Linked DNA regions of Homo sapiens: all the other regions are linked to region 3. The links are contacts of gene promoters, found by promoter capture Hi-C in human tissues and cell types (Jung and others, 2019). All regions are on one chromosome and are shown on one strand. The core of a region is centred on a gene start or on the middle of the fragment in contact, and the rest is flanking DNA. Distances in the headings are between cores, read along the strand shown.

Region 1 (4,569 bases), core at 1,028-3,527, 1.2 Mb after region 3:
TTAGTAGAGACAGGGTTTCACCATGTTAGCCAGGATGGTCTTGATCTCCTAACCTCGTGATCCGCCCTCCTCAGCCTCCCAAAGTGCTGGGATTACAGGCGTGAGCCACCGTGTCCGGCCATGCCCAGCTAATTTTTTAATTTTTTGTAGAGATGAGGTCTCACTATGTTGTTCAGGCTGGTCTCGAACCCCTGGGCTCAAGTGATCCTCCTGCCATTGGCCTCCTAAAGTGCTAGCATTATAGGCATAAGCCACCACACTCAGCCAGAGGTGGTTATTTTAGTTAGGGTGATCAGGGAAGGCCTCACTGAGGAGGTAACATTTGAGCCGAGACCTCAGCTCCAAGCTTGGTGGAAAACACTTGGTTTTATACTTGATGAAAAAGTAAGTGCGTGTTTAGTTTTGTTCAAAACTGCCATACTCTTTTTGCAGAGTGGCTATACCATTTCACATTCCCATCAACAAAATATGAGAAACCTAGTTTCTCCACATACTCACCAGCATTTGGTGTTAGCATTCTTATTTTAGCCATTCCAAGAAGTGCGTAGTGATGAAAGCAATTGTGGTTTTAATTTGTATTTCCCGAATAAATAGCTAATGATGTTTAACATCTTTTCATGCACATATTGCCACCTGTGACAGCAGTGAAATATCCGTTCATATCCTTTGTCCATTTTCTTTATTTCAAGTTCTGGGGTACATGTGCACGATGTGCAGGTTTGTTACACAGGGAAACATCTGCCATGGTAGTTTACCGCACCCATTAACCCATCACCTAGGTATCAAGCCCAGGATGCATTAGCTACTCTTGCTGATGCTCTCCCTCCCCCCTCCCAACACCCACCCCACAGGCCCCCATGTGTGTTGGTCCCCTCCCTGTGTCCATGTGTTCTCATTGTTCAGCTCCCACTTATAAGTGAGAACATGCATGTTTAGCTTTCTGTTGCTGCATTAATTTGCTGAGGATAATAGCTTCTAGCTTCATCCATGTCCCTGCAAAGGACATGATCTCGTTCCTTTTTATGGCTGTATAGTATTCCATGGTGTATATGTACCACATTTTCTTTATCCAGTCTATCATTGATGGGCATTTGGGTTGAGTCCATGTCTTTGCTATTTTGAATAGTGCTTCAATGAACATACTCGTGCATGTATCTTTGTAATAGAATGATTTATATTCCTTTAGGTATATACCCAGTAATGGGATTTCTGGGTCAAATGGTATTTCTGGTTCTAGGTCTTTGAGGAATCACCACACTGTCTTCCACAATGGTTGAACTAATTTACATTCCCACCAACAGTGTAAAAGCGTTCTACCTTTGGCCATTTTCAAACTGCATTATCTGTTTTACAAAAATCGCTCCAGCTGCTTTACGGAGAATTAATTAATTAAAGGGTGGAGTCGACACTGCGGAAGTTCAGGAGAAGTGATGGGAGCTGGGACGGAGTGTTAGCGCTGGAGATGGAGAAAAAGGGGCACATTCTGGAATAGTCAGCACATTGGAAGTAGAGTTTACGGGACTTGCAGGAGGACACGTAGAATCAAGGACTTCCAGGTTCCTGGCGTGTCCTTTACAGAGGGAAAAAAGGTTTGAGGGAAGGGGAACCAAGGCTCTGGACATAAATCTGAATTGCCTGTCACCGTCCGGGTGGAGGTCACAGATAAAGAGCCTGATCTAGACACAGGCGGAGAGGAGAGGAGGGATTTGAGGGCGTTGGGAGGAGGAAAGGGGGGCCAGCAGGAAGCGGTGACTGGCTGAGTAACAAAATGGGGGTGGGGACGTGCAAGTTTCAGACTCCGACTAACTACGCGGGGACTCCGAGGCGCTCAGAAAAATGAAGCCGACCCGGCCCTGCCCCGAGGGACGCTCCAAGAGGGCGGAGGTGCAGGGAGGGCCCCGCCACAATTCGCGGTAACGCAAGCCAGGCTCGGGCGGAAGGGCGGCCGGAGCCGATCAAAGGCTGGCTCCGGGCAGGGGCAGCGAGGGAGCGAGGGGGAGCTCTCCGCAGGCCGGTGTCCCGGAGGAGGCATAATTGGAGCAGGGCTTCCAAGGTCACGGAGAGACGCCGGGCAAGACCTCTTAAGGATCCTCTTCCGGGCTTGAAAGGCAGGCGTCCTCCCGAACCGCGCGACCCAGCCAAGAAGAGCCGGGGCGGGGCCGGGGCCGGGGCCGGGGGCCGACTCGGGAATCTTCGGCCGAGGCTCGGCAATCCCCCCATCCTCCGTCCGGGGCCTCCAGCCCGGGGCCGATCCGGAAACAGCCGAGCGGATCCGGAAACAGCCGAGAGGACCCGGAAGCGGTGCGCTCCGTCACCAGGGAGTGCGGGAATCCGCCGTTTGCGCTGAGGCAATGGCGGCAGCTGCGCCGGTGGCCGCGGACGACGATGAGCGGCGGCGGCGGCCGGGGGCTGGTACGTGAGGGGGCGTCCGTGCAAGCGGGGAACGGTGATGCTGGGGGCGGGGCCGAGCCAGCCACCTGCGGATGGGGGGTGGAGAGGGATGATGGAGGAAGGGGCGGGGCCACGCCGTCGGGAAAGGGGGCGGGGCCTACAGCCACAGGCAAAAGGGGGCGTGGCCCGGCCATTGAAGGGGTAGGGCCAGTGACAGGTGCGAAGTGGGGCCCGGTGAGGAAGGGGCGCGGCCACTAGGAGGGCGGGGCCAGGTGGGACCGAAGAGAGGACTGAGTGAAACTGGCCACCGCGAAGAGATGGAGTGTAGGCAGCACCCGGCAGAGCGAGTGGGAAGGGGGCGGGGCAGGGGCGGGGCCAGGTGAGCCGGGCGGGCCCAGGTGAAGGAGGCCCCAGATGAAGGCAACAGTACTAGGTTGCAGGACTTGCTAAGCCGGTAGGTGGCCTGGGGTAAGAGATGGGAAGAGAGGCTGATCCCTGTCCCCCACAGCACTGGAGGACTCCCGGTCCCAGGAAGGGGCAAATGGTGAGGCCGAGTCAGGTGAGCTCAGCCGGCTTCGGGCTGAGCTGGCAGGCGCCCTGGCAGAAATGGAAACCATGAAGGCTGTGGCAGAGGTGAGCGAGAGCACGAAGGCCGAGGCTGTGGCTGCGGTGCAGCGGCAGTGCCAAGAGGAGGTGGCCTCGCTGCAGGCCATCCTGAAAGGTGAGACGCGGGACTCACCTAGACTCCCCATCAACCCCATACTGGGGAGTGCATGACGAGAAAGGGATTGGGGGCACAGATAAGCTATGGGATAGGTTAGCAGGGCTGCCTGGCACAGGGCATGCCTATGGCCCAGAGGAAGGGCCGCCCTTTTAAAATTTGCATAGAGGCCCTCCATGTGATAGCAGCAGCTCTGTCAGTTATAGCTAAGTTTAGCTCCCAGCTTCTATCTGTTGCCTTGTCCCATGTCATTTCTTGTCCCTCACTGATGATTGATCAACCCTGAAGATGGGCGAGAAACTTCTCAGTTCCCCAAACCAACCTCATTTTAGTCTGGACTTCTGGGAAATAGAATCAGCCCTGGCCCAGTCTCTGTGAGTCTAATGCTCTGCTCTCTAGCCTTCCCCAGACACTCCCCCCTCCACCCCACGCCATGCACCAGCTTCCCCACCTCCGCCCCACGTTCTTTGTACTTGGTCCTCTGGCCCCAGACGCCCCAGCTGCTGATCCTGTTTTCTACTCTCCTTCCTCTAGCAGAAGCCAGAGACTCTGAAACAGATGTCAGAGCTGCCCCCGCTGCTATGCCCCTGCTGCGGTGGGGCTCTCGTCAACTCTCTCCTGGACTTTTGTCCCAACCTTCTCACAGATCTTCCTCTATAGTGTGGCCTTGACATTGGCTTCCAGAGTAAACTTCCTAAAATTCCCTTCCCAACATGCGATTTCCCTTTCTAACAGCTGCTGGTGGCTGGAGACTTCTCTGGGGCTGTATTTCCCACATTTCAGGATCCACCTGCCTGTGCAATGTAGACACATCCTTGTACAACTTACTGTGCTGTTTACTTAATATTTGTTCTTTAAATAGATCCACATTTTAAAAGTTTACATACATTTATTAAGGGAAACTTGTTATATCTACTATATAAGAAAAGCCAGGTGTGTCCTAAATAATAACAATAGCTAGCTTTTTTTTTTTTTCTTGAGTCAATAAGAGTTTCACTCTGTCGCCCAAGCTGGAGTGCGTCACAGCACGCTGGTGTGATCTCAGCTCACTGCAACCTCCACCTCCTGGGCTCAAGCAGATCCTCCTACCTCAGCCTCCCAAGTAGCCAAGACTACAGGTGCATGCCACCATGCCTGGCTAATTTTTAGTATTTTTTTGTAGAAACAGGGTCTCTCTATGTTACCCAGACAGGTCTTGAACTCCTGAGCTCAAACGATCTGCCTGCCTTGGCCTCCCAAAGTGCTGGGATTACAGGTGTGAGCCACCGCGCCTGGCCAGGTAGCATGTTTTGAGCACTCACTATGTGCCAGGCACTGAGCTAAATGCTTTATGAGTAACTAATCTTCATAACAAACTCTGTGAGGCAGGAACTATTACCCATCTCCATTTTACAGAGGAAGCTCTGAGGCCCGGAGAGGTTAAATAACTTGCCCAAGGTCATATAGCTGGAAAACAG
Region 2 (4,666 bases), core at 2,163-4,662, 1.2 Mb after region 3:
AGACGGGATTTCACCATGTTGGCCAGGCTGGTCTCGAACTCCTGGCCTCAAGTGATCCGCCTGCCTCGACCTCCCAAAGTGCTGGGATTATAGGTGTGAGCCATTGTGCCCAGTGCATCCATAATATTATCTACCAAACAATATTCTTTTAAGTTGATCTGTTTTTTTAAAAACTTGATTATTATGCCAGTTTTTTTTCAAGCTAATACACATTAAAATAAATATAGCACCACAAAAATATAAACCATTAATTCAAATACCACCCCCAAAAACTCATAACTTGCTAGTGGCCAATAGTGTCTTAGGATAAATTCCTAGGAGTACAGTGACTTAGGTACAGAGTAGAAACAGAAAACCCTTTTAGGCTGGGCACAGTGGCTCATGCCTGTAATCCCAGCATTTTGAGAGGCCAAGGTGGGCAGACGGCTTGGGCCCCGGTATTGGGAGACCAGCCTGGCCAACATGGCGAAACCCCATCTCTACAAAAAATACAAAAATTAGCCAGGTGTGGTGGTGTATGCTTGTAATCCCAGCTATTTGGGAGGCTGAGGTAGATTGAGCTTGGGAGGCTGAAGCTGCAGTGAGCTGTGACTGCCCTACTATGCTCCAGCCTAGGAGACCCAGCAAGGCTCTGTCAAAAAAACAAAAACAAAATCTGTTTATACTACACATGATACCAGCCTTTCCTAAGCAGAACTGATTAACTGGAGGGCCAGGAAGAGAGAAGTCTTAGCAAGTTCCTCACTTTATCTGAGCAGTAAAATGAGAGTTAAATTATAGTACAGTCTGGCTGGGCATGGTGGCTCACACCTATAATCCCAGCATTTTGGGAGGCCAAGGTGGGTGGATCACTTGAGGTCAGGAGTTCAAGACCAGCCTGGCCAATATGGTGAAACCCCGTCTCTATTAAAAATACAAAAATTAGCTGGGCGTGGTGGCAGGCGCCTGTAATCCCAGCTACTCGGGAGGCTGAGGCAGGAGAATCGCTTGAACCTGGGAGATGGAGGTTGCAGTGAGCCGAGATCGTGTCACTGCACTCCAGCTGGGCAACAGAGTGTGACTCTGTCTCAAAAAAAAAAAAAAAAAAAAAAGGACAGTGCGGTGTGCACACTTTTTGGGGTTTAGTGGTGGTGGATTCCTTAATCACCCTGACCGTCAGTTTTCACACCTGCAAAATGGAGGAAATAATAGTTCCTACTACCCAGGGTAGCACTGGGAGCGCTGATTGTGAAACAATAGGAATGCCTGAACATCATAAAGCTCTAGTTCAGAGTTTCCTAAACTCCTCTGAGTTTTCATTTGAAAAAAAATTTTTTTTTTTGGAGACGGAGTCTCGCTGTGTCGCCCAGGGTGGAGTGCAGTGGCACCATCTCAGCTCACTGCAAGCTCCGCCTCCCGGGTGCAAACAATTATCCTGCCTCAGCCTCCTGAGTAGCTGGTACTACAGGTGCACACTGCCACGCCCAGCTAATTTTTTGTATTTTAGTAGAGACAGAGTTTCACCGTGTTGCCCAGGCTGTTCTCGAACTCCTGAACTCAAGCAATCCACCCGCCCGGCCTCCCAAAGTGCTAGGATTACAGGTGTGAGCCACCACGCCTGGCCAAAATATTTTTATAGAGATGGGGTCTTTCTTGGCTGAGCGTGGTAGCTCACGCCTGTAGTCCCAGCACTTTGGGAGGCCACAATGGGCGGATCACTTGAGGTCTGGAGTTCGAGAGCCGTCTGGCCAACGAGGTGAAACCCCATCTGTACTAAAAATACTAAAATTAGCCAGGCGTGGTGGCACATGCCTGTAGTCCCAGCTACTCAGGAGGCTGAGGTGGGAGAATTGCTTCAACCCAGGAGGTGGAGGTTGCAGTGAGCCGAGATCGCCCCATTGCACTCCAGCCTGGGCGACAGAGTGAGACTCTGTCTCCAAAAAAAAAAAAAAAAAAAAAAAAAAGATGGGGTCTTTCTCTGTCACTCACGGTGGGGTGCAGTGTCATGATCATACCTCACCACAGCCTTGAACTCCTGAGCTCAGGCGATCCTCCTGCCTCGGCCTCCTGAGTAGGAGGGGCTATAGCTGCATGCTACTGTGCCTGGCTAATTTTAAATTTTTTTTTGTAGAGATAGGGTCTCCTAATCTGCCCAGGCTGGTCTTGAACTCCTGGCTTCAAACCGTCCTCCCACCTCAGCCTCCCAAACTGCTGGGACTATAGGCTGGCACTATAGCCACCGTGCCCAGCCTCTTCTCAGTTTTAGAAGAGTGTTTGTTATATAGCTTCCCAGTCTGTGCATAGACCCCACGGAATCATAACCTCCAGGGGAGGAATTAGGGAATCTATTTGAAACAAACACTGTCCACTGAGTCTCAGGATCTGATGAGTTCCGAAACATTAGCCAGGGTTAAGCAGCCATAATTAACACTTTGGAGTGCCCTGTGGAAGCTGCCATGAGATGATGGATGTGAAAGTTAAGGGACATTGACTACCCTTGCACCCATTCATTCAACATTCACTGCATGCTCCACCCTGTTAGGTGCTGGGGACACCGACAGATTAAAGGAGACTCAGGCTCCCCTTAAAGGCTCCCCTAGCTGGCTCCTCATCCTTGGCTCCTCATCTGCAAAATTAGATGGGTGGGGCGATGCCCAACGGAACTGCTCCTTAGGCTGCTGAGGGACTACAGGGGTGGGCAGCGAAGCTGTCTGTCTTGTGGGCTCTGGCCCTGTGAGGTCTAGCAGTACAGGGTCCCCGCAAGCTGCCTGACCTCACAGGGCCCAACACTGACTCCTACCCAGTTCATCTCCTCTCAGGGCTAGATGTCAGGCTCTCCCTATGAAGTGGATACTACTATTCCCATTTTACAGATTAGAAAACAAAGTCTCAGCGAAGAGGGAGGTCACACTTCACCCCATCCCCGAAAGGCGTCCAGGACCTGGTCCCCTACCTCCAGCTGCGGCAGAGGCGGCCAGATATCTCGCAAGACCCGCGTAGCGAGTCGGACTCCGGGGGACTCGGGGTCTCTCTCTGCCGGGCCCAGGAGGAGGTTCCTGAGCAGTCGGAGCCGCAGCTGCCTCCCGGAGCCCGAGCCCCTCCCTCCGGGTCCGGCCTAGCCCGCCTGACTCCCACTCTGATCACCTCCACAGCCCGCCGACCTGAGAACTACTACGCCCATGAGCCTTCGCGGCGCCGGTGATTTAGGGGACGCTCCTCAGTGCCCCCTGCGACCGCCAGAGAGAACTACGTTGCCCCTCAGCCCGAGAGGCGCGAGTGGTGGAAAACCTCTCCATCATACTCCGCCCTCGAGACACCAGCCCCCTCCATGACGTCTTCAGCCGCGCGCCCGACGTCGGCTGAGACGGCCATAGACACTGGCGGCTAGAGGGGCCCGGACTTGCCCTCCCAGCTCTAACTTCCGCCGGAAGTGCCTTCCAGCCGCAGGCGCCCTTCTTCTTCTGTGCGCTCGGGCTCCTGGTCCCGGCTCCCCGGTTACCGGGGCGCGAGTATGACCACAATGGCGGCCGCCACCCTGCTGCGCGCGACGCCCCACTTCAGCGGTGAGTGGTCAGGGAGGGCGATGGCGGCCCAGGAACACTTTGGGGGAGTGGTAGGTGGCTGGGTTCGGTCTGACCCCTTCCCTGCCTGACTCCAAGCTTCGGTCCCGGCAGGTCTCGCCGCCGGCCGGACCTTCCTGCTGCAGGGTCTGTTGCGGCTGCTGAAAGCCCCGGCATTGCCTCTCTTGTGCCGCGGCCTGGCCGTGGAGGCCAAGAAGACTTACGTGCGCGACAAGCCACATGTGAATGTGGGTACCATCGGCCATGTGGACCACGGGAAGACCACGCTGACTGCAGCCATCACGAAGAGTGAGTGGGGTTGGGGCGTCCAGCAGCGCCCTATCTACTGATGGGACCTGGAGCCAGGGAGGCAAGGCCAGCAGAGTGTCTGCTGGAGGAGTTTACTGTGGCCCCAAGAGCCCGAATTTGTGCGACAGGTGGATTGGGAGATGCAAGAGACAAATTTCTCCTGAACAGGAAGAACTTTGTGATCCACCAATGGCTTGGGGATCACAAAGTCGTGGGGAATGCTCTGCAAGCAGAGGCTGTACCCTAAAGAAGTCACAGGGCAGACCCTTAAGGCCCTCTAACATTTCTTTCTGACCCACAGTTCTCTCTGCTGGAAGAGTTAGAGATTGGAGGAGGTTATGTATTTAGGTGGGAGGGTTCAGGGGCGTGGTCTAAGCTCTGCCTCTAGCACTGGAACTTTAGCTGAGAGGTGTGTTCTTTTCCTCCTTTAGTTCTAGCTGAGGGAGGTGGGGCTAAGTTCAAGAAGTACGAGGAGATTGACAATGCCCCGGAGGAGCGAGCTCGGGGTATCACCATCAATGCGGCTCATGTGGAGTATAGCACTGCCGCCCGCCACTACGCCCACACAGACTGCCCGGGTCATGCAGATTATGTTAAGGTGAGGGTTGCTGGGACACTGGAGACAGGGCCAGAAGCTGCCTCTTGTCAGGATAAATGTTAGGCTTGTGGGGAGGAGATTAAGATATTCAGTGTTTGGGTATGAGATGGCAGGTTTGTGGTCTTGGCCACGCAGAATGGGTGGTGAGGAGATGGTAGAGAAAGGTGGGCCTGAGTTTCTAACTGCTACACTTGGCTATATGGATGTGAACTGAAGAGCT
Region 3 (4,941 bases), core at 472-2,971:
TTTTTTGCCAGTACCGGGCCAGGCCAAATAGTGGCCCTGTAAAGGCCAATGTTTACTGTTCAATAAACGTAGGGTAATTCTGTGGGCTCTTCTGCCACAATTCTCCAGCCTGGTAGAAGCCACAATCACACAGTTCCCCAGAGGAGGCAGGTAATTAAACCCCTGACTGTTCCCCACGCATCTCAGGGCCTCCACTGTTACATTCGTCCTGCTTGGAATGCCCTTCCCTCACTGGCCCTGCCTCCATCAGCTAGCCAAATTATCTTCATCCTTCAAGGCCTACCTCCACTCAAAAGCCCTCCCTGATGGCTTTAGCCCATCTCATTATTGCCCTCTTCCAAAAGAAATAGAATACCTGGTGATTATCAAGCACGTATGCTGTACCAAAACACTGTGCTAACCTCATCTCCAGCACCAACTCACTGAATCTTCACAATCATCTTATTAAGTACTATTAATTCTGCTTTACAAATAAAGACACTTAAGATTACTAACACAGCTAGAAAGCGGCAGAGTTCAGATTCAAACCTAGAGCCATCTCACACTGCAAAACCTAGAGCCTTAACCACTACATCATCCTACTTCCCACAGAACTCTGAACTGGCCTCCCTATCGTGCTTAATTCTACCCTGGCTTACTTGCTACGATTTCTCAGGCTCCCACCCTGAACGTGAATGATCCAACTCCACCTTTTTGCATTATGGCCTGAAAAAGGACAGGACACTAAGAGCTGGCTTCAGACCCCATTCCTTACTTGTGGGTAACTTTGAACATGAAAGTTCCCACCTGTAAAATGAGTACAATACCACCAATCTTTAAGGGTTGTTGTAATTAGAAGACTTTTATAAATCACAGGGTCTTTAACTTTCCTGTCTTAAACTTTTGGTTTTTGGCTGACTCTTTTACCACCTCCTTATTCGAGGCCTCTCCCACAGTTCGGCCCCCCTCCAACAAGCTTCCGTCCCCCGACAGATGGACTTGTTTCCTTGAGTTTCCTAAGTACTTTATGTAACACTCTTACTCCACTGGAAACACATCGTCTAATAAACTTTAAGTGTCTTTATCCACTCTGTCTTCCCCGAGCAGGCTAGCTTTTCCTCGAGGGCAGCGGCTCCATCCTGCTCCTCTCTGGGAAAGCTTCCAGAACGAGGCAAGCCCAAAGTTCTCAGTTGGGTTTGCCCCAGGCCAGAACCCGTGGGCGGCGGCTTGGCCTCCCTTCCCCAGGGCCAACGAGCTCACCTGGCCTTAGCGCACAGGGCCTTGACTTCGCTCTCCTTGATGAGCTCGCAGCGACGCAGCTGCTCGATCTGCCGGTCCAGGTCGCTGATCTCCGCCATGGCCCACCCCCGGCGCGGGTCAGAGTCGGGGCCGCCGCCCCCTCCGCACCGCACAGGGGTCTCCTGGGAAAGGCCAAGACGAGCCCGCGGATCAGTGTCCGTCCGGGGCTCGGAGCGGACAACTCGATTCTAGAGCCGGCCCGGCTCCCCCACCCCCGCCTCCCCTCACATCGGCCCCAGGACCCCCCGGCGTCCAACGGCCTGGCCGCACCCCCGCTAACTCCCGTCGAACCCCGCGGTCCCGCGCTAAGGACGGTGACTTAGAGGAGTCTCGCACTATTACCGCCGCTGCGACTCCGGTTCCGGCTCTCCGGCTCCCTGCCTCCCTCTTTCACTCCGCTTTCGACCGCCGCCGCCGCCGCCGCCGCCGCTCCTACTTCCGGCCCCGCCGCGGAAGCAAAGGAGGCCAGTTCCGCCGCGCGCCGGATGTGGCGTCATACACGCTCCTCTCCTTTCGCAGCGACCCCTGCACCACTTCTCCAGCCTGAGATCGGGAAGGAGGTGGAGGAACCCGGTGGCGGCCAGTGGCAGTTTTGTGGGCTCTGCCGCTGGGCGATGTGGAGGCTATTAGAAACCCTAGACCAGTCCCCTCCCATATCATTTCATAAAAATGTTTAAACAACTGTCTTTTCTTTTTTTGAGACGGAGTTTTGCTGTTGCCCAGGCCGGGGTGCAATGGCACGAACTCGGCTCACCGCAACTTCCGCCTCCCGGGTTCCAGCAATTCTCCTGCCTCAGCCTCCTGAGTAGCTGGGATTACAGGCATGCGCTACCACGCTGGGCTAATTTTGTATTTTTAATAGAGACGGGGTTTCTCCATGTTGGTCAGGCTGGTCTCTAACTCCCTACCTCAGGTGATCCGCGCCCCCACCCACCACCACCCTTCGGCCTCCCAAAGTGCTGGGATTACAGGCGTGAGCCACCGCGCCCGGCCACAACTTTCTTTTTTCTAAATTAGAGACAGGGTCTCGCTCTATCGCTCAGGCTGGAGTCGGTGGGGCTATCATAGGTCACTGTGACCTCGAACTCCTGGGCACAAGCTATCTTCCCGCCTCGGGCCTCCCAAAGTGCTGGGATTACAGGCGTGAGCCACCGCGCCCGGCCATCCCCCATTTCAGCTAGGGAAACAAGCCGAGCTGGGGCTAGGCTTTGTAACTTTATTACACTTTTTTTTTTTAACATTACACTTTTTTTTTAATGTTACACATTTTTGTTACTTGTTTTGTCAGCCTTCCCCACCACAGTCCTTGGAGGATCCAACTTTGTCTTTTTAAATATTGCAGCCCCAGTGGTTAGAATAAGGCCTGGCACGGTAGGCATATATAGATACTTGTTAATACTTGTTCAATGGATGAGGGAAGCCAAGTTCAGATCTCTTCCTGTGCCGTCAGAGAAATATTTGCCGTGGACAACTTCAGAAGTTAACAGATTGGAGTCCACTTTTCCCACGCCAAGCCTGTGCCTCAGTCAGCATGACTTCTCTGATTCCAAAATGGCACTCTTGACATTTCTTAGTTGCTTCCGTTTTTCTTTTTGAGACAGAGTCTCACTCTCTCGCTCTGTCGCCCAGGCTGCAGTCCAGTGGCGCCATCTCGGCTCACTGCAAGCTCCGCCTCCCGGGTTCACGCCATTCTCTTGCCTCTGCCTCCTGAATAGCTGGGACTACAGGCGCCCGCCACCAGGCCCGGCTAATTTTTTTGTATTTTTTAGTGGAGACGGGGTTTCACCGTGTTAGCCAGGATGGTCTCGATCTCCTGACCTCATGATCCACCTGCCTCAGCCTCCCAAAGTGCTGTACCACAGGCGTGTACCACCGTGCCCGGCCTCTTTTTTTTTTTTTTTTTTTTTTTTTGAGACGGAGTCTTGCTTTTTCACCCCGACTGGAGTGCAGTGGCACAATCTCGGCTCACTGCAACCTCCGCCTCCCAGGTTCAAGCGATTCTCCTGCCTCAGCCTCCCAAGTAGCTGGGATTACAGGCATGTGCCACGACGCCTGGCTAATTTTTGTATTTTCATTTATTTATTTTTTTAAGACAGAGCCTTCCTTGCTCTTGTCGCCCAGGCGGGAGTGCAGTGGAGCGATTTTGGCAAACCGCAACCTCCGCCTCCTGGGTTCAAGCAATTCTCCTGCCTCAGCCACCTGAGTAGCTGGGATTACAAGCACCCGTCACCACGCCCAGCTAATTTTTGCATTTTTAATAGAGACGGGGTTTCACCATTTTGGTCAGGCTGGTCTCGAACTCCTGACCTCAGGTGATCCACTCTCCTCGGCCTCGGAAAGTGCTGGGATTACCAGCTTGAGCCACCGTGCCTGGCTTCTTAGTTGCTTTCTATTAAGTTTTGTGCCTTTTTTAAGAGGAGGAAACTGGCTCAGAGGGGTTAAATAACTTGTTCATTGCTTGTATAACAGTGGATTGGGGATGTTACACTGAAATTTGAATCCGGGGCTAGGTGTGGTGGCTCAAGCATGTAATCCCAGCACTTTGGGAGGCCGAGGCGAATCACTTAAGCCCAGGAGTTCAAGACCAGGCTGGGCAACAGAGTGAGACCCAGTCTATAAACAAAAAGAATAAGAAACTTGGGCTGGGCGCGGTGGCTGACGCCTGTAATCCCAGCACTTTGGGAGGCTGAGGCGGGCGGATCACGAGATCAGGAGATCGAGACCATCCTGGCTAACATAGTGAAACCCCGTCTCTACTAAAAATACAAAAAAATAGCTGGGCGTGGTGGCGGGCGCCTGTAGTCCCAGCTACTTGGGAGGCTGAGGCAGGAGAATGGCGTGAACCCAGGAGGCAGAGCGTGCAGCGAGCCAAGATTGCGTCACTGGACTCCAGCCTGGGCAACAGAGCGAGACTCTGTCTCAAAAAAAAAAAAGAAAGAAATTTGAACCTGGCTGTGTGTGGTGGCTCACACCTGTAATCCCAGCACTTTGGGCAGCCGAGGCAGGTGGATCACCTGAGGTCAGGAATTCAAGATCAGCCTGACCAACATGGTGAAACCCTGTCTATCCTAAAAAATAAAAAATAATAATAATTAGGTTTGGTGATGCGCTTGTAGTCCCAGCTACCTGGGAGGCTGAGGCAGGAGAATCGCTTGAACCCAGGAGGCGGGGGTTGCAGTGAGCCGAAATTGTGACACCGCACTCCAGCTTGGACAACAGAGTGAAATGCTGTCTCAAAAAAAAAGAAATTTGAACTCAGAAAGTTGTGTCCTCAGGTGTAGTTTTTTTTTCTATCAATTACTCTTTCGGGAACTCAGATTATCATAAAATTAAGAGGTCCAGGCCAGGCATGGTGGCTCACGCCTGTAATCTTAGCACTTTGGGAGGCCAAGGCAGGCGGATTACCTGAGATTGGGGGTTCAAGACCAGCCTGGCCAACATGGTGAAACCCCGTCTCTACTAAAAATACAAAAAATTAGCCGGGTGCAGTAGCGTGCACCTGTAATCCCAGCTACTCTGGAGAGGCTGAGGCAGGATAATCGGTTTGAACCCGGGAGGCAGAGGTTGCAGTGAGCCCAGATCGTGCCACTGCCCTCCGGCCTGGGCTACAGAGCGAGACTTCGTCTCAAAATAAATAAATAAATAAAAGTCCAAATCCCCCAA
Region 4 (4,520 bases), core at 1,313-3,812, 1.3 Mb after region 3:
AAATGCCCGCCGCACTCTACTCATTCTGCCTTGTGTGTGCCGGGCCCACAGCCCTCCTGAGTACATTAGACTCTATCTAGACCTAATGTGCCCTATATTCCCACATTATGCATCTTTTAGGTCTATGTATCTTAAACAGGGTGGGAGAAGACACTCACAGGTGACTGTGGGGGTCCCTTTCCTGTGCTCTGTCCCCTATAAAAGAAAACAAGAAATTACTTAAGTCTGTTCAAGCCCTCTTAGACCACTATGAAATTAATGTTAAATCCTAGAAGTATATACCACCTGATGATGCTGATTTAGACTACAAAATTGTTAATCAGTAAGATTTTTCTATTTTTTTTGAGACAGGGTCTCCCTCTGTTGCCCAGGCTGGGGTGCAGTGGCGTGATCTCAGTTCACTGTAGCCTCAACCTCCAAGGCTCAAGTGATCTTCCTGCCTCAGCCTCCCGAGTGGCTGAGACTATAGGTACGAACCACCACTCCTGGCTTTTTTTTTTTTTAATTTTTAGTAGAGATGGGATTTCCCATCTGTGTTGCCCAGGCTGGTATCGATCTCCTTGGGCTCAAGGGATCCTCCCACCTTTGCCTCCTAAAGTGCTGGCATTACAGGCGTGAGCCACTGCGCCCGGCCAATAAATAAGATTTTCAAACTGTCACCTTGTAGAGGAAGAAAAAAATAGACATTAATAAGCCAGCAAACACATTTCCTCCAAATGCCAGCAAAAAGATCTCAATCAACAATGGTTGTCAATTGCTCTAAGAACCAACGAGAAAGGGGCTAGGGCTGCAGGCTACCAACAGATCAATGCTACAGTATTAACCAAAAAGCCACGCCAGCTGTGAGGGCAAAAGCTCCAGGAGTGCAGCTTTGGAACTACCTAGCTCAGGTACATTACCTCCCAAACAGAAAAGACAATCATTTTCAGCAGCCTGACGCCTCAAAACTGTGGGAGGAGGGGTATCCCCTCCACACCCCATCCCCTCGACCTCATGACTCATTCAGCCCGTTACCCACTCTGCGGGGATCACCAATCGCCAGGTAACCCTGCTCGTCGCTGGCTGATGTAACCGGCGGTTGAGGGCGAAGAGGGGGCCGCTGGCGGGGCTGGGGGACAGCGCAGCCGCAAAAGCCATCCACCGGGAGGCCTCGCCCGGTCTGCGCCTGCGCACTAAAACCCACGGGACTTTCCGAACCCCCACCTCCAGCGATCAGAGCCCACTGCGCCTGCGTGTGCTGCCACTCTTAATTCCATTAACACACACACACTCGCACAGGAAAAACTGAGCAGGGCCTCCACTACTCATGCACTGCCACCAGACGAGCCCCTCCACGAACTAGTCCCTGCCCTAGGTGTTCCCGGGGCGCGCGAATGCCCGGGTCATGAGACCGAGCATCCACGCGCACGTACGGGAAGGGGGCGCGCGCGCCAGAGGCTCCCGGCCCGCAGTCCTCCCAGTCATCCCTCCTTCCGTCCCCCCGCCCACCTCGCTCCCCTCCTACTGGCCAGACCGGGAAGGGGGAGGCAGCAACCCGCTCCCAAGTCCCTCCCTCCCCATTGGCCAAACTGTGGGCCGCGCGCCCCCCTCCATTGGCTACGGCCGGGGACCCCTTCCCGCAGCAGACTCCCCATTGGCTGAAGCCGGGGACCGCGAGACCCTTCGTGGTAATGGAACCGGGGACCCCGATCAGCTCCTTGCCCCCCCCCAACTCCCCGTTCCGACGGCGCCGGCGGGATGCGCCCCGCCTCCCCTGAAGGCCGGGGCTGCGAGCCCTGACTAGGCCCCGAGAGCCGAGCGCGGCCCCTCAGTGCTCCGGTGGCCGCCCGGGGACCCTTTCCGTCCGACCTGTTCGGACCTGAGGGGGCCCTCCCCCAGCTTCACGGGGACTCCCCACCCAGCCGGTGCCCCTGACGGTGCCGGGTCGGGGTCCGCCCCACCGGAACCGAGCCACAGCCTCTGGGTGGCCGCGGCTCCCTCGCCCGGAGCCCACCCTTCTCACCTGGCGCTGCCGATGGCGGCTGCCCCCGGCCTCTCCTGGTGTTGCTGCGGCGGCGGCGGCTGCGGCGCCAAGATGCCTTCGGCTCCCCGGCGGAGCCCGCTCCCGGCAGCGGCCACAGGCCCCAGGCAGGGGGAGGCGGCCGCTGGAGGCCCGGGAGGAGCCGCAGAGGTGGCCAGCGGCCCCGGGAGGCCGCCGTTGGGAGGGCTGGTGCCCCCGGGGGGCCGACGGGCCACGGCCTGTTGCGTGGGGGGCGGCTGCTGGGGCTGGGAGGGCTGTTGTAGCGGCTGAGGCTTCAACATGATGGCAGCGTCCGGAAGGGGAATTAGAGAGAAGGGAGGGAGAGAGGGGGCCGGGGCTGGGGCCCCGCTGGAGAGCGCGGGAAGCGAGGGGGATCGGGCAGCCGGGGCCCGCCGTGGGCGGGCGGGGGGAGCCCCGCGGTGTCGGGGGTGGAGAGAGAAGACCGCGGCGCGAGGAAGCGCCGCGAGGCGGAAGGGGAGGGGGTCTCGCGGCTGGAGGAAAGCGAGAGGGCGCGAGCCGGGCTGGCGCGCGTGCGCGTCGCCGGGGAGCGGAGAGGGAGGAGCGCGCGGGTGGGAGCTCCCGGGGGGGGGGGGGGGGGGGGGGGGCCAGGAGCGAGCAGTGGCGCGAGGTGCCGCGCACACCGGCGCGGTTAGCTCCCGGCGGGAAAGTGGGAGAGAATCAAGTCGGTGAACCTCGCACCCCTAGCCCTGGGAGTGGGTAAGGAGCGGCGCGGGCGCTCACGCGCGCCAAGGATTTAGGGTCTTAAGGTCTCAAACCGCCTTAGAAGCCGGCGGCCGCTGTCGCTTCACAATGAGCGTGTGAGGCGCAGGGGGAGGAGCCGAAGGCGCCAGAGGAAGGGCCGGCCTCTCCGCCCACGCCGTCGCTGCGTCGCGATGCCTCCGCGGGAGTGTGAGGCGGCACGTCGTGCGTGAGGCTCTTCCGCCACTTGGCGGCCCGTGGGCAGAGCCTTAAGTGCCAAGAAAGTCTCCGGGACTGGACCACCCGAGCCACTGCGCTTTTAGGCAGGTGGTAGGTTTCGCAAGGAGCTACCCTCCACCTTGTTTGCTTTAAGTAAAAGACTGATGAGCATTAGTGATTCGTTTGAGCGTGTTGATCTTTGCAGATAAATTTACGCCTCGTCCTAAATTATTTCAGATTTTTGTGATTTTGACCTAAATTGTTCCTCCATGCCCGAGAATGAATCTTTAAACTGTAATAACAAAGACTGAAGGCCAAAGTTCCGAGTTCAAAATCCTCCACCCGACCCTGCAATGAAGGCAGCTTCATTCATTCAAAATGAGTTGGGCATTGGAGTATTCAGTTAGTTGTTTTGGACACAAGGATAATTAAACTGCTTCCTGCTCTGGAGGAGTTCATGCTAGTGGTGAATTCAGAGAATTTGACGAGATCTAGTAGGTGAAGCACAGAGGACTACAAGAGCAAATGGGAGTGACACCTAATCTTAATCCAGTTTTGGGAGACCCAGATAAGGGACAGGAGGGCCGGGCGCAGTGGCTCATACCTGTAATCCTAACATTTTGGGAGTCCGAGGCAGAAGGATCGTTTAAGGCCAGGAGTTTGAGACCAGCCTAGGCAACAAAGTGAGACTTTGTCTCTACAAAAAAAAAAAAATTTAAATTATAAAAAAAAACTGATAAGAGGGCAGGGGGAGATGGGTTTCTAGGCAGGGAAATAGGATATGACAAACTAAGAAAAACTCAGCTTGTCCTAAGCATAAAATTAAAGGGGGGAAGAGGTAGCTAATCTGGGATCAGGTTTTAAAGGCTCCCAAGTCTTGTAAGAGACACGGACATTATCCTCAAAGCAGTGGGGAGCTTATTTAAGAAAGTGAAAAGAGGCTGGGCATGGTCTGTAATCCCAGTACTTTGGGAGGTTTGAGGTCAGGAGTTTGAGATCAGCCTGGCCAACATGGTGAAACCCTGTCTCTACTAAAAATGCAAAAATTAGCTAGGCGTGGTGGTGCATGCCTGTAATCCCAGCTACTCAGGAGGCTGAGGCAGGAGAATCACTTGAACCAAGGAGGCGGAGGTTGCCGTGAGCCCAGATCGCACCACTGCACTCCAGCCTGGGTGACAGAGCAAGACTCCTTCCCCCCAAAACAAACAAAAAAACAAGTGAAAAGAGGTCAGATTTGCATTTTTAAAGGTTTACTCTTTGCAACGTGGAGAATGGAGTGGAGCTGTTAAGTCCATGTGGTCTTAATCCCAGCGAAACTCTCAATGTCTCAATCTCTTCGCTCTAAATGTTAGCATTGGAACTCTTCCCAGCCCCTGCACCAAACACATGCACACCTAGCTACAACACTGCCTTACTTTTTGGGTAATAGTCCTTCGCCCTGCCTCGCTCCTGCCTTCAGATGTGCTAGTTTCCCCTCCTGTGTGCTCGCCGAGCAATTTATCCCACTGTATTCTAACAGCTCCTTTAATTCTGTCTTCCTGCTAATGTCAGCTCCCTAAGGGTTAGGATCTTGACTTATTTC
Region 5 (4,676 bases), core at 1,158-3,657, 1.1 Mb after region 3:
CACCACGCCCAGCTAATTTTTGTATTTTTAGTAGAGATGGGGTTTCACCATGTTAGCCAGGATGGTCTCAATCTCCTGATCTCGTGATCCACCCGCCTCGGCCTCCCAAAGTGCTGGGATTACAGGTGTGAGCCACAGCGCCTGGACTGTTTTCTGTTACATAACACTTATCCCTATGGGAAAACTGTCCCACTTTAGTTTAGCGTTTTACTGGCTGTTGCTGCCTCATGCATAGCGTACTATCAGCTCCCAAGGCAAGGTCCTTGCCTGTATTGGCCATGACTGTGTTTCTTTCACTTACTTAACACACAGCCTAGTGCAAAACAGGTGCTCAATAAGCATGTGAAGAGAGTGAATAAATCCGGCTGCCTAGAAAGAGCTGCTGCTCTAACTCAACAACTCTTCAGAGGTTTGAAGACCTTGCCCTATGATCCCATTCTCATTGCTCCAGACTTCACCTCAAATACCTCCAGTTCCTCATTGGCCTGGAGTAGAGAAAAGAACACTGCAAGACCTGGTTTCAAATTCCTGTTCCGCCTCCAACTGGTGGTGTGACCCTGGGCAAGTCTTAACTCTTCTCCAAGCCTCAGTTTCTTTATAAGCTGTAGATATCACTACCTACTTCCTCTATAAAATAGGAACAGTAACACCTATTTTTGACTGATAGAAGGATTAGAAGACAAGGGGCATAAAAGTTCTTCGCAAAGTCCTACAGGTGTAATCATCACTTCCTCCAGGCCTGGCACACAATGAGTACTCAGAAATGGTTGAGAAATGAATGAAGGATGGAAGGAAGAAAAAGGGCTTGGCTCTAGCTTTGCCTCTCCCACAAGTCCCAAAGTTGTGAACAAGTAAAACACACCTCTCCCCATTCCAGACACCCTCTCCTGCCTTTACTTATTTATTTATTTATGAGATGGAGTCTCGCTCTGTCACCCAGGCTGGAGTGCAGTGGTGCGATCTCGGCTCACTGCAACCTCTGCCTCCCGGGTTCAAGTAACTCTCATGCCTCAGCCTCCCAAGTACCTGGGATTACAGGCGCTCGCTACCATGCCTGGCTAATTTTTGTATTTTTAGTACAGATGGGGTTTCGTCATGTTGACCAGGCTGGTCTTGAACTCCTAACTTCAAGTGATCCACTCATCTTGGCCTCCCAAAGTGCTGGGACTACAGGCGTGAGTCACCACACCCAACCCTCCTGCCATTATTTACTGGGTGTCTACCATGTGCCAAACACTGCACTAGGCCCTTCACAGACAATCTTTTAGTTAATCTTCACATCAGTCCTAAGAGATGATTCGTGTTATTACTTGTTCCATCTTATAGACAAGGAAAATGAGGCTTAGAGAGGTTGAGTGCCTTGCCTACCATCACACAATAAGTGGAAGAGCTGAGATTTAAACCCAGGTCTGTCTTCACCTGGGTGAAGTTATACTTAGTTATACTAAACTGACTCCCTCTTTAAATGTGGTGTCCCGCTGACCCCCGAGCAACATCAGGGCCATCACCTCCCCTAACTGGCCACAAAACCTCCATTAATGAGCCCCTAGACAGGCCAGCGCGTGGCCCCACTTGAGACAGAACAGAAGGAGGAGCGGCTGTGTGACCAGGAGTGGTCCCCACTCACCGGTCTGGATGAGCCCAGAGCTACTGTCCCCGATGTTGAAGAACTGCTCGATGTCGGGAAGGACGCCTGAGGAGAAAATTCAGGATGGTCCGGCAAAGCAGCGCCACCCTCGGGACCCTGGCTCCCCTCTCCTAGACTATCTTCCTCCCAGAAGTGAGTCCCTACCAGCCACGGTGAAGCGGTCCATGTAGTTCAGGAGATTGATGTAGCACAGCACCGCCACTATGAGAGCCGAACGGCCGGGAGACAGGCCGGTGATGCGCTGCAGCCCCTCCTGGTCCGGGACCTCGGGCTCCTCGGACTTCGGGTTCCCCGTGGACCCTGGCAACCCCGGGGTGCCAGGCACTGGCCCGTCGTCCGGGTCATCCGCCTGGCTGAGGAAGGGCGCGGTGTCGGACCCGGCCATGGTCCCGGGGGGCCGCGCCCGCCCGCGCTCCGGTCCCACCGACGATCCCACCTGCGAGGGGAGGAGGCTGGAGAAAGGAGGATGGACCGAACACAGGCGAGGGAAGTGCGCCCGGAGACGGGGAGCTTGCCCTGAAGCACAGAGCACCACTGAGAAGGGACCCGGGCCCTGTCACGCCTCCCCGTCTCAGTAGACACACAGCGCGGAGGGGACGTGCGGAATACACGTGATGTCGGGGACAGGAGCGGGCTGAAGAGGGCACGATCCCACGCGGAGGCCACCCCTCACCCGGGGTAGGAGCCCGCTGCACTTGCTGTCGCTCAGCCCGGGCGCTGCACCACGGCAGCCGCCATGTTGCTTAAAGCCGGTCATGTGACGCGGGAGCCAGGGTGGAAGGGGTCCCCGCGGGCAAGCCTTCGACACGTGACCTGCCACCCGACTACGGAAGCCTCTTGGGCGTTCCGCCCGGGCTCACATGTCATGTGACGGCCGGCCGGTCGCCGGAGTAACCAGGAACTTTCCCAGACCCTGCGGTCCCTGGAGCGTCAAAAAGAGCGTCCCCGTGACTAGGTGGAGTCGCCTGCCCTTCCGAATCTCAGCTGTCTTATCTGGAACCCCCACGTGGCAGACTCCATCTTCATCAAACGGGATAATGGGGTCTCAAAAGGTTTTGGAAGTAGTAGATACCTCTAAAAGCCAAGGAGCAGCCCTAGTTCTCGGGAACCATCCTGTCTTCCTCCCAGGGTCTGGTTGGCGGCTTTTTACTCTCAATAAAGGATGGATGGATGGATGGATAAATGGATGGATGGAGCTTGAGCAGCGCGATGGATGGAGGATTGGAGGGACGGAGGGATGGACGGACGGACGGATGGAGCTTGAGCAACGCCCCGCCCTTTGTTGAGATTCCCCAACCCTGCTAGCCTTGTAAACTCCTGAGCCTTCACCGTGGACACTTAAATACCTATTAAAGGAAGCGTCTCCACCCGCCGCTCCTGGAGCATATTTTTCCTCACTCCAATCGGGATTGGAGCCCTTGCGCCCTCCGGTGGGCTTTTGTAGGGCAGGCAGGAGCTCCTAGCCTAAGGAGACTCCCAGCTGCAGGACTAGGGTCAAAGGGATAACTTGGGAGTGGTTCTTTAGTGGCACCCTATAATCTCCAAGCTACATCTAATAAAGCACTCTAAGTAAAATTAGTATAGTTCTGTGCAAATACAGCTTCAAGACCCATCTTTCAACCAGCCCTTAAAGGCCCTCTACTGAAATCCTGGAATCTCGTGGGGAGAGCATCCCCCAACCCCAAAACGCCTTGTTAGAAACTATTTCGAGTCCGAATACCCATAATTGGCTTTAACCCCCCCCCCCCCCCCATATTAGGTGCCTCGTGTTTCAGAACCTTAAGCTTGGTTTCCCCTGGCGGACAGGAACTTCAGGTTGCAGGCATTTAATTCCCTCAACAAGATATTATTGAACATGTATGTGCCTGGCATTTTACCAGGTTTCAGGGAAAGGCAGACTTACTCCCTTCCCTCGTGGAGCTTATCTAGAGAGTGATACGCATTGTAAATTGCACCTCTGAAGTGAAAAGGCAAGCCACAGGTTGAATGAAAATATTTACAAAGCATCTATCTGCCAAAGGACTTGTATCCATGTAAAGAACTCTTTTTTTTTTTCTTTCTTTCTTTTTTTGGAGACAGACGCTTGCTCTGTCACCCAGGCTGGAGCTGGAGTGTAGTGGCGGGATCTCGGCTCACTGCAACCTCCACTTCCGGGGTCCAAGCGATTCTTGTGCCTCAGCCTCCCAAGTAGCTGGGATAACAGGCACGTGCCACCACACCCGGCTAATTTTTTGTATTTTTGGTAGAGATGGGCTTTCAGCAGGTTGGCCAGGCTGGTCTTGAACTCCTGACCTCAAGTGATCTGCCCGCCTCAGCCTCCCACCGTGCTGGGATTACAGGGGTGAGCCACCATGCCCAGTGTCATTTTAATTTTTATATTTGTAGAGATGAGTTATCGCTATGTTGTCCAGGCTAGTCTGGAACTCCTGAACTCAAGCAATCCTCCCACCTCATCCTCCCAAAATGCTAGGACTACAGGTGTGAGCCACTGCACCCAGCTCTTTTGTCCATTTTAAAAATTGTGTTTTTGGCCAGGCACAGTGGCTCATGCCTGTAATCCTAGCCCTTTGGGAAGCTGAGGTGGGAGGATCACTTCAGCCCAGGAGTTCAAGATCAGCCTGGGCAACAAAGCAAGACTCATCTCTACAAAAAAACTAAATAAATAAAAATTAAATATACACTTCCCATATGACCCAGCAATTCCACTCCTAGGTAACCACCAATGAGAAATGAAAACGTGTCCAAACAAAAACCTGTATATGAATGTTCATAAATGCATTATTCATAATAGCCCAAAAATGAAAAGAATCCACATGTCCATCAACAGGGGCATAATCTATTCATACAACGGGAATAGCTTAACAAGAAAAAGGAATGAACTGTCAGAGACGTTCGGACCAGAGTGACTCCATCTTGAGTGACGGTTAGGAAAATAAGGCTGGGACTTGCTGGACTGAATTACAGAAAGTAAGGCATTCCTAGACTCGACATGTTTATGGTTAAGGAAACAATAACGTTTACTAGGCCG
Region 6 (4,969 bases), core at 1,750-4,249, 1.6 Mb after region 3:
GAGTCATTGAGGAGAGTCCCAGCCCTTTCCCTGGGGGCCCTGGCTGGAGGAGCCCAGGTTAAGGAAGAGGGTACTGGGATCTGAAAGGAGAAGAAGAGGATTTGCAGAAGGAGCCAGAAGGGGCATCGATTAGGGGTACGAGGACGCATGGTTGGAGGTGGGGACTGAAATTCAGAAAATATTAGGCCAGGAGTCTGCCTGAACCTGAGAAAGCAATCTCCAGTTTGAGGAGATCAGAAGGAGGAGGGGAAAGGTGAGGCCCCAGGGGAGGTGCCCGGAAGTGAGGCCCCAGGGAATGGGGTGCAAGTATCTGGCAGCTGTCTGCCCTTCTCACCAGTGCCCCCCTCAAGGCCTGGTGCAGCCCAGGGAGGTATAGCCGGAGGAAGTCCATCCTGTCTGTCTCTGTCTGTGTGTCCAGAAAGCTGATAATGACCGTCCCCACCCACCAAGACAAGCCAACCTTCCCCAGGACCAAAGGCACTTCCTCTTCCCCTGTCTCCCTGATGCGTCCCCACCCCAGGCCCTGCCCACGGCCCCTGATGCCCACAGTAGCCCCCACTGCAGCCCGGGAAATGGGTGTACATCACACAGGGGACTCAGGTGCACATTTGGAAATAAAGGACAAGCAAGAGGCCAGAAAGGACAAAGTGGGAGCAGGAGACCTTAGAACTGGGGAGGGGGAGAGGGAGGGGACATGTGGCAACAGCAGCTCAAGTGACTCAGGTCTCGTATCCGCACCTCAGCCATTTCTGCCTCCCCTACAAGCCACAGCCACTCTGCAAGAGGAAGCTGGGGTTTGTGGTTCCTGTTTTGCCTGGGAAGAAAGAGTAGCAGTGAAGAGGGGGCTGGTGGGAGCTCTGACACATTTCGGCGTCATTAATGCTTCCCCCAGGGGCGGAAGGGGCCGGATTGGTGGCTCTGGGGTGCATCCCCTCACCTATGATTAGGCTTGCAAAAAAGAACTTGGCTAAACTTTATATTGTGGATATCTGTGTCTGCCTCCCACCTTCCTGTGACTTCCTTGATGGCAGATGCCATGTATGAAACGCTGCTGAATTTCTAGAGCCCTGCACGTTAGTAGGATTCCATTTTCCATCAGCTGAGTGACCTGGGAGGCACACTAGAGAGGGCACATTTCTTTTCTTTTCTTTTCTTTTTTTTTTTGAGACAGTCTCACTCTGTCACCCAGGCTGGAGTGTAGTGGCGCAGTCTCAGCTCACTGCAACCTCTGCCTCCTGGGTTCAAGTGATTCTCCTGCCTCAGCCTCCCGAGTAGCTGGGATTACAGGTGCGTGCCACCACACCTGGTTAATTTTTGTATCTTTAGTAGAGACAGGGTTTCACCATGTTAGCCAGGCTGGTTTCGAACTCCTGACCTCAGGTGATCTGCCCACCTTGGCCTCCCAAAGTGCTGGGATGACAGGCATGAGCCACCACACCCAGACGAGAGGGCACATTTCCAACTGCATTCTGAAGGCCTGGTGGTGAGAAAGAGCATATAGAGGTGGCACAGCCCATAGCAGAGATGAGGCCAAGGACAAGAAGAGAATGCAGGATGCCGCTTTCCACCTAGAAGAAGGTAAGGGTATGATTCCTTATTTGGAACTACATAAAGTGACCTTGCTCTACTTCTCTTCCCCATACCCTCCTTCTCCCCTCCCCAGCCCCACTTTCCTATTCCAATTAGGGCAATTCTATGAAATCACAGCATCAGAATCTTAGGCCTTAAAATCATTTAGTCTGGCCAGGTGCAGTGGCTCACGCCTGTAGTCCTAGCACTTTGGGAAGCCAAGGCAGGTGGATTGCTTGAGCTCAGGAGTTTGAGGCCACCCTGGGCAACGTGGCAAAATCCAGTCTCTACAAAAAACACAAAAATTAGCTGGGCACAGTGGTGCGCACCTGCTGTCCCAGCTACTCGGGAGGCTGAGGTGGGAGGATCACCTGAGCCTGGGAGGTCAAGGTTGCAGCAAACCAAGATCCTGCCACTGCACTCCAGCCTGGGCAACAGAGCAAAACCCTGTCAAAAAAAAAAAAAAAATCTGGTCTAAGCACCACCTTTGATGGAGGCAGGAATCCTGCAGCAGCCTGGAGCCAACCCAATGGCTCCCTGCCTCTGGTGCTCTATTTCTTATCACCATACAGGTCTCTAAGGTCACCTTTAGGTCTAACATTGTATGAATGATTGTCAGCAACTTTCCAATTTTTTTCATATACATATATTTTTTTTATTTTATTTTTTACTTTTTCTTTTTTTGAGACAGGATCTCACTCTGTCACCCAGGCTGGAGTGCAGTGGCGTGATCATAGCTCACTGTAGCTTCAACCTCCTGGGCACAAGTGATCCTCCCACCTCAGCTTCCAAGGTACCTGTGACTACAGGAATGCGCCACCATGCCCGGCTAATTTTGTTATATATATATATATATATATTTGTACCTTGGTTTTCTCATCTGTAACACCAGGGGTTGAAGTGCTGTGATATTTTTTGGTTCTAGGATAATTTGGAAATAGGGATCTCTTAACATCTTGGATACTGCCAATAGATCATTCACGAAATCCCTTTAGATGAGTGTTATGTTTACTTAGGTCTCTAAAACAATTTGTAAGGTCAACAGATGGGGATAAGAATGACCTGAAGCTGGTCGTCTTTGTTCGCAACCAGAAACAGTCCTGCCTCAAAAAAAAAAAAAAAAAAAAGGGAGTAGGCAGGTGGCCATATTTGTTTCTGGCAAGTGAGTGCTGAAGGAAAGGAGCTGAAGCCTCCCACAGTCATAACTGGTGCTGGCAGGCTACTGTCTCGGTCTTGGGCGCCACTGATCTAAGGTCACGGCTCTGCTTGCTGCTCCCACCCGCTCCAGTTTAAAACCTGCGGTTCCAGGGTTCTCCAGCCCCTCCCTTTTTCACGCTCCGAAGCCGAGAAGGCCCAAAGCGAAGACAGAGAGGACCCGGAAGTAGGGAAAACCTCTGAGCACGTGATGGGGGAACACGCGGGTGCTGTCACGTGATCCGACAAACGGCCTCTGCATAGTGCAGAACATTCTGCTGCTCTTAAAGGTACAGGCCTCAGGGTCCCTGCTGTAGACGGGGCGGGGGAGAGTACGATGGGTGGGGCGTGGTGGGTCGTAGGGCGCTCGAGATGGAGCCCCCAGCTTCCTTGATGGATCGCGGGGCGCGAGTGCCCTAGACAAGCCGGAGCTGGGACCGGCAATCGGGCGTTGATCCTTGTCACCTGTCGCAGACCCTCATCCCTCCCGTGGGAGCCCCCTTTGGACACTCTATGACCCTGGACCCTCGGGGGACCTGAACTTGATGCGATGGGAGGCTGTGCAGGCTCGCGGCGGCGCTTTTCGGATTCCGAGGGTGAGTATTCCCGCCCACCCTCATGGAACGACCACCTCTGGCTCGCAGCCCACCTGAGGGGAATGAGAGCTGACTCGGCCCCGGGAGGACACGCAAGGAGCGGTCGTGCACCTGAGAGTAGGTGGGGGTCATGCCCTCTTCTCGCTCTCCCAGGGGAGGAGACCGTCCCGGAGCCCCGGCTCCCTCTGTTGGACCATCAGGGCGCGCATTGGAAGAACGCGGTGGGCTTCTGGTGAGTGGCCTGAGACTTCAGCGAGTGACAATGGCATGAGAAGAGGGAAGTGACCGGAGGAAAGGGGGAAGAAAGAGTTAAGCTGCGCAAAGGAGCTGAACCCACAAATATTTACTGAATCCACTGGTTTGCCCCAGGGGCAGCATGTAAAATTTCCAAACTTCACTCCTTATCACCTTCCGGATTTAGCAAGATCCTCATACCTACCACCTGTAGGATTATTTACTTTTTTCTTCCAGCCAATTCAGCCTTAACGTTTTTTAGTGCACATATTTTTAAAAAGAAAACTTTAAATCACGACTCCACTTGGAAAACCAGCGTTTTCCTAGTGAACGTTTAAATAAATGCATCACTACTAAAACTTTTTTATTTTTTTAATTTATTTTATTTTATCTTATTTTTTTTTCTTTTTGAGACAGGGTCTTGCTCTGTTTCCCAGGTTGGAATGCAGTAGTGCAATCACAGCTCCCTGCAGCCTGGAACTCCTGGGCTCAAGTGATTCTCCCACCTCAGCCTCCAAGTAGGTGTGGCTACAGGTGTGCACCACCGCATCTGCCTAATTTTTATATTTTTTTATAGAGATGGGGGTCTCACTATGGGACCTGGGCTGGTCTCAAACTCGTGGCCTCAAGTGATCCTCCTACCTCAACCTTCCAAAGTGCTGAGATTACAAGCATGAGCCACCATGCCGGGCCTGAACCTTTTTTTTTTTTTTTTTTTTTGAGACGGAGTCTCTCTCTGTCCTCCAGGCTGGAGTGCAGTGGCGCAATCTCGGCTCACTGCAAACTCCGCCTCCCAGGTTCACACCATTCTTTTGCCTCAGCCTCCGGAGTAGCTGAGACTACAGGCGCCTGCCACCACGCCCGGCTATTTTTTTGTATTTTTAGTAGAGATGGGGTTTCACCGCGTTATCCAGGATGGTCTCGATCTCCTGACCTCGTGATCCGCCCGCCTCGGCCTCCCAAAGTGCTGGGATTACAGGTGTGAGCCACCGCGCCCAGCTTTTTTTTTTTTTTTTTTTAATTTTATTTTATTTTTGAGACAGAGTCTCACTCTATCACCCAGGCTGGAGAGCAGTGGCACAATCTCGGCTCACTGAAACCTCCACCTCCAAGGTTCAAGCTATTCTCCTGTCTCAGCTCCCCGAGTAGCTGGGATTACAGGTGCGTGCCACCAGACACAGCTAATTTTTTGTATTTTTAGTAAAGACAGGATTTCACCATGTTGGTCAGGCTGGTCTAGAACTCCTGACCTTAGGTGATCCGCTTGCCTCCACTTCCCAAAGTGCTGGGATTACAGGCGTGAGCCACCGTGCCCCGCCCTGACATAGGGGCTTTGGGATCACAGACTTGGATTCACTTCCAGCCTCCAAGGCCTC

The links. The method cuts DNA at HindIII sites, captures the fragments that hold promoters and counts their contacts. A contact is called where the count stands out against the background at its distance.
Region 1: a contact is called between the fragment with the promoter of RABEP2 here and the fragment with the promoter of PPP4C in region 3, in 1 of the 25 tissues and cell types used here (lymphoblastoid cells).
Region 2: the fragment with the promoter of TUFM here is called in contact with the fragment with the promoter of PPP4C in region 3 in 1 of the 25 tissues and cell types used here (dorsolateral prefrontal cortex).
Region 4: a contact is called between the fragment with the promoter of ATXN2L here and the fragment with the promoter of PPP4C in region 3, in 1 of the 25 tissues and cell types used here (spleen).
Region 5: the fragment with the promoter of SPNS1 here is called in contact with the fragment with the promoter of PPP4C in region 3 in 3 of the 25 tissues and cell types used here (dorsolateral prefrontal cortex, small bowel and spleen).
Region 6: a contact is called between the fragment with the promoter of CLN3 here and the fragment with the promoter of PPP4C in region 3, in 1 of the 25 tissues and cell types used here (spleen).

What each region holds. Positions count from the first base shown.
Region 1 is chr16:28,922,946-28,927,514 of GRCh38, reverse strand. It overlaps RABEP2 (rabaptin, RAB GTPase binding effector protein 2), which reads left to right and starts at 2,277. Exons shown (of 13, transcript NM_024816.3): 1 at 2,277-2,412; 2 at 2,900-3,112. The coding sequence starts at 2,352. RefSeq lists enhancers at 1,234-1,817, 2,796-3,025, 3,056-3,145 and silencers at 2,036-2,385, 2,416-2,635. The HindIII fragment of the contact is 23,237 bases long and covers 1-4,563 here.
Region 2 is chr16:28,845,094-28,849,759 of GRCh38, reverse strand. TUFM (Tu translation elongation factor, mitochondrial) reads left to right here and starts at 3,412. Exons shown (of 10, transcript NM_003321.5): 1 at 3,412-3,542; 2 at 3,654-3,848; 3 at 4,280-4,446. The coding sequence starts at 3,491. It also overlaps a transcript of SH2B1 not described here. RefSeq lists an enhancer at 3,061-3,550. The HindIII fragment of the contact is 27,203 bases long and covers 1-4,666 here.
Region 3 is chr16:30,072,774-30,077,714 of GRCh38, reverse strand. PPP4C (protein phosphatase 4 catalytic subunit) reads right to left here and starts at 1,721. Exons shown (of 9, transcript NM_002720.3): 1 at 1,621-1,721; 2 at 1,240-1,400. The coding sequence starts at 1,337. RefSeq lists enhancers at 1,108-1,197, 2,820-2,999 and a silencer at 1,308-1,447. The HindIII fragment of the contact is 17,066 bases long and covers 259-4,941 here.
Region 4 is chr16:28,821,041-28,825,560 of GRCh38, reverse strand. ATXN2L (ataxin 2 like) reads right to left here and starts at 2,562. Exons shown (of 22, transcript NM_007245.4): 1 at 2,003-2,562; 2 at 159-195. The coding sequence starts at 2,301. LOC124903672 (a long non-coding RNA gene) reads left to right here and starts at 1,519. Exons shown (of 2, transcript XR_007065042.1): 1 at 1,519-1,667. RefSeq lists a silencer at 1,356-2,505 and enhancers at 2,826-3,035, 2,547-3,283. The HindIII fragment of the contact is 10,837 bases long and covers 1-4,520 here.
Region 5 is chr16:28,972,509-28,977,184 of GRCh38, reverse strand. It overlaps SPNS1 (SPNS lysolipid transporter 1, lysophospholipid), which reads right to left and starts at 2,407. Exons shown (of 12, transcript NM_032038.3): 1 at 1,793-2,407; 2 at 1,628-1,693. The coding sequence starts at 2,033. RefSeq lists a silencer at 2,051-2,140, a cis regulatory region at 2,177 and enhancers at 2,093-2,262, 2,361-2,470, 2,551-2,670. The HindIII fragment of the contact is 29,978 bases long and covers 1-4,676 here.
Region 6 is chr16:28,490,104-28,495,072 of GRCh38, reverse strand. CLN3 (CLN3 lysosomal/endosomal transmembrane protein, battenin) reads left to right here and starts at 2,999. Exons shown (of 16, transcript NM_001042432.2): 1 at 2,999-3,053; 2 at 3,238-3,359; 3 at 3,513-3,591. The coding sequence starts at 3,314. APOBR (apolipoprotein B receptor) reads right to left here and starts at 430. Exons shown (of 4, transcript NM_018690.4): 1 at 335-430. The coding sequence starts at 391. RefSeq lists enhancers at 2,789-2,988, 2,328-3,117. The HindIII fragment of the contact is 23,586 bases long and covers 1-4,969 here.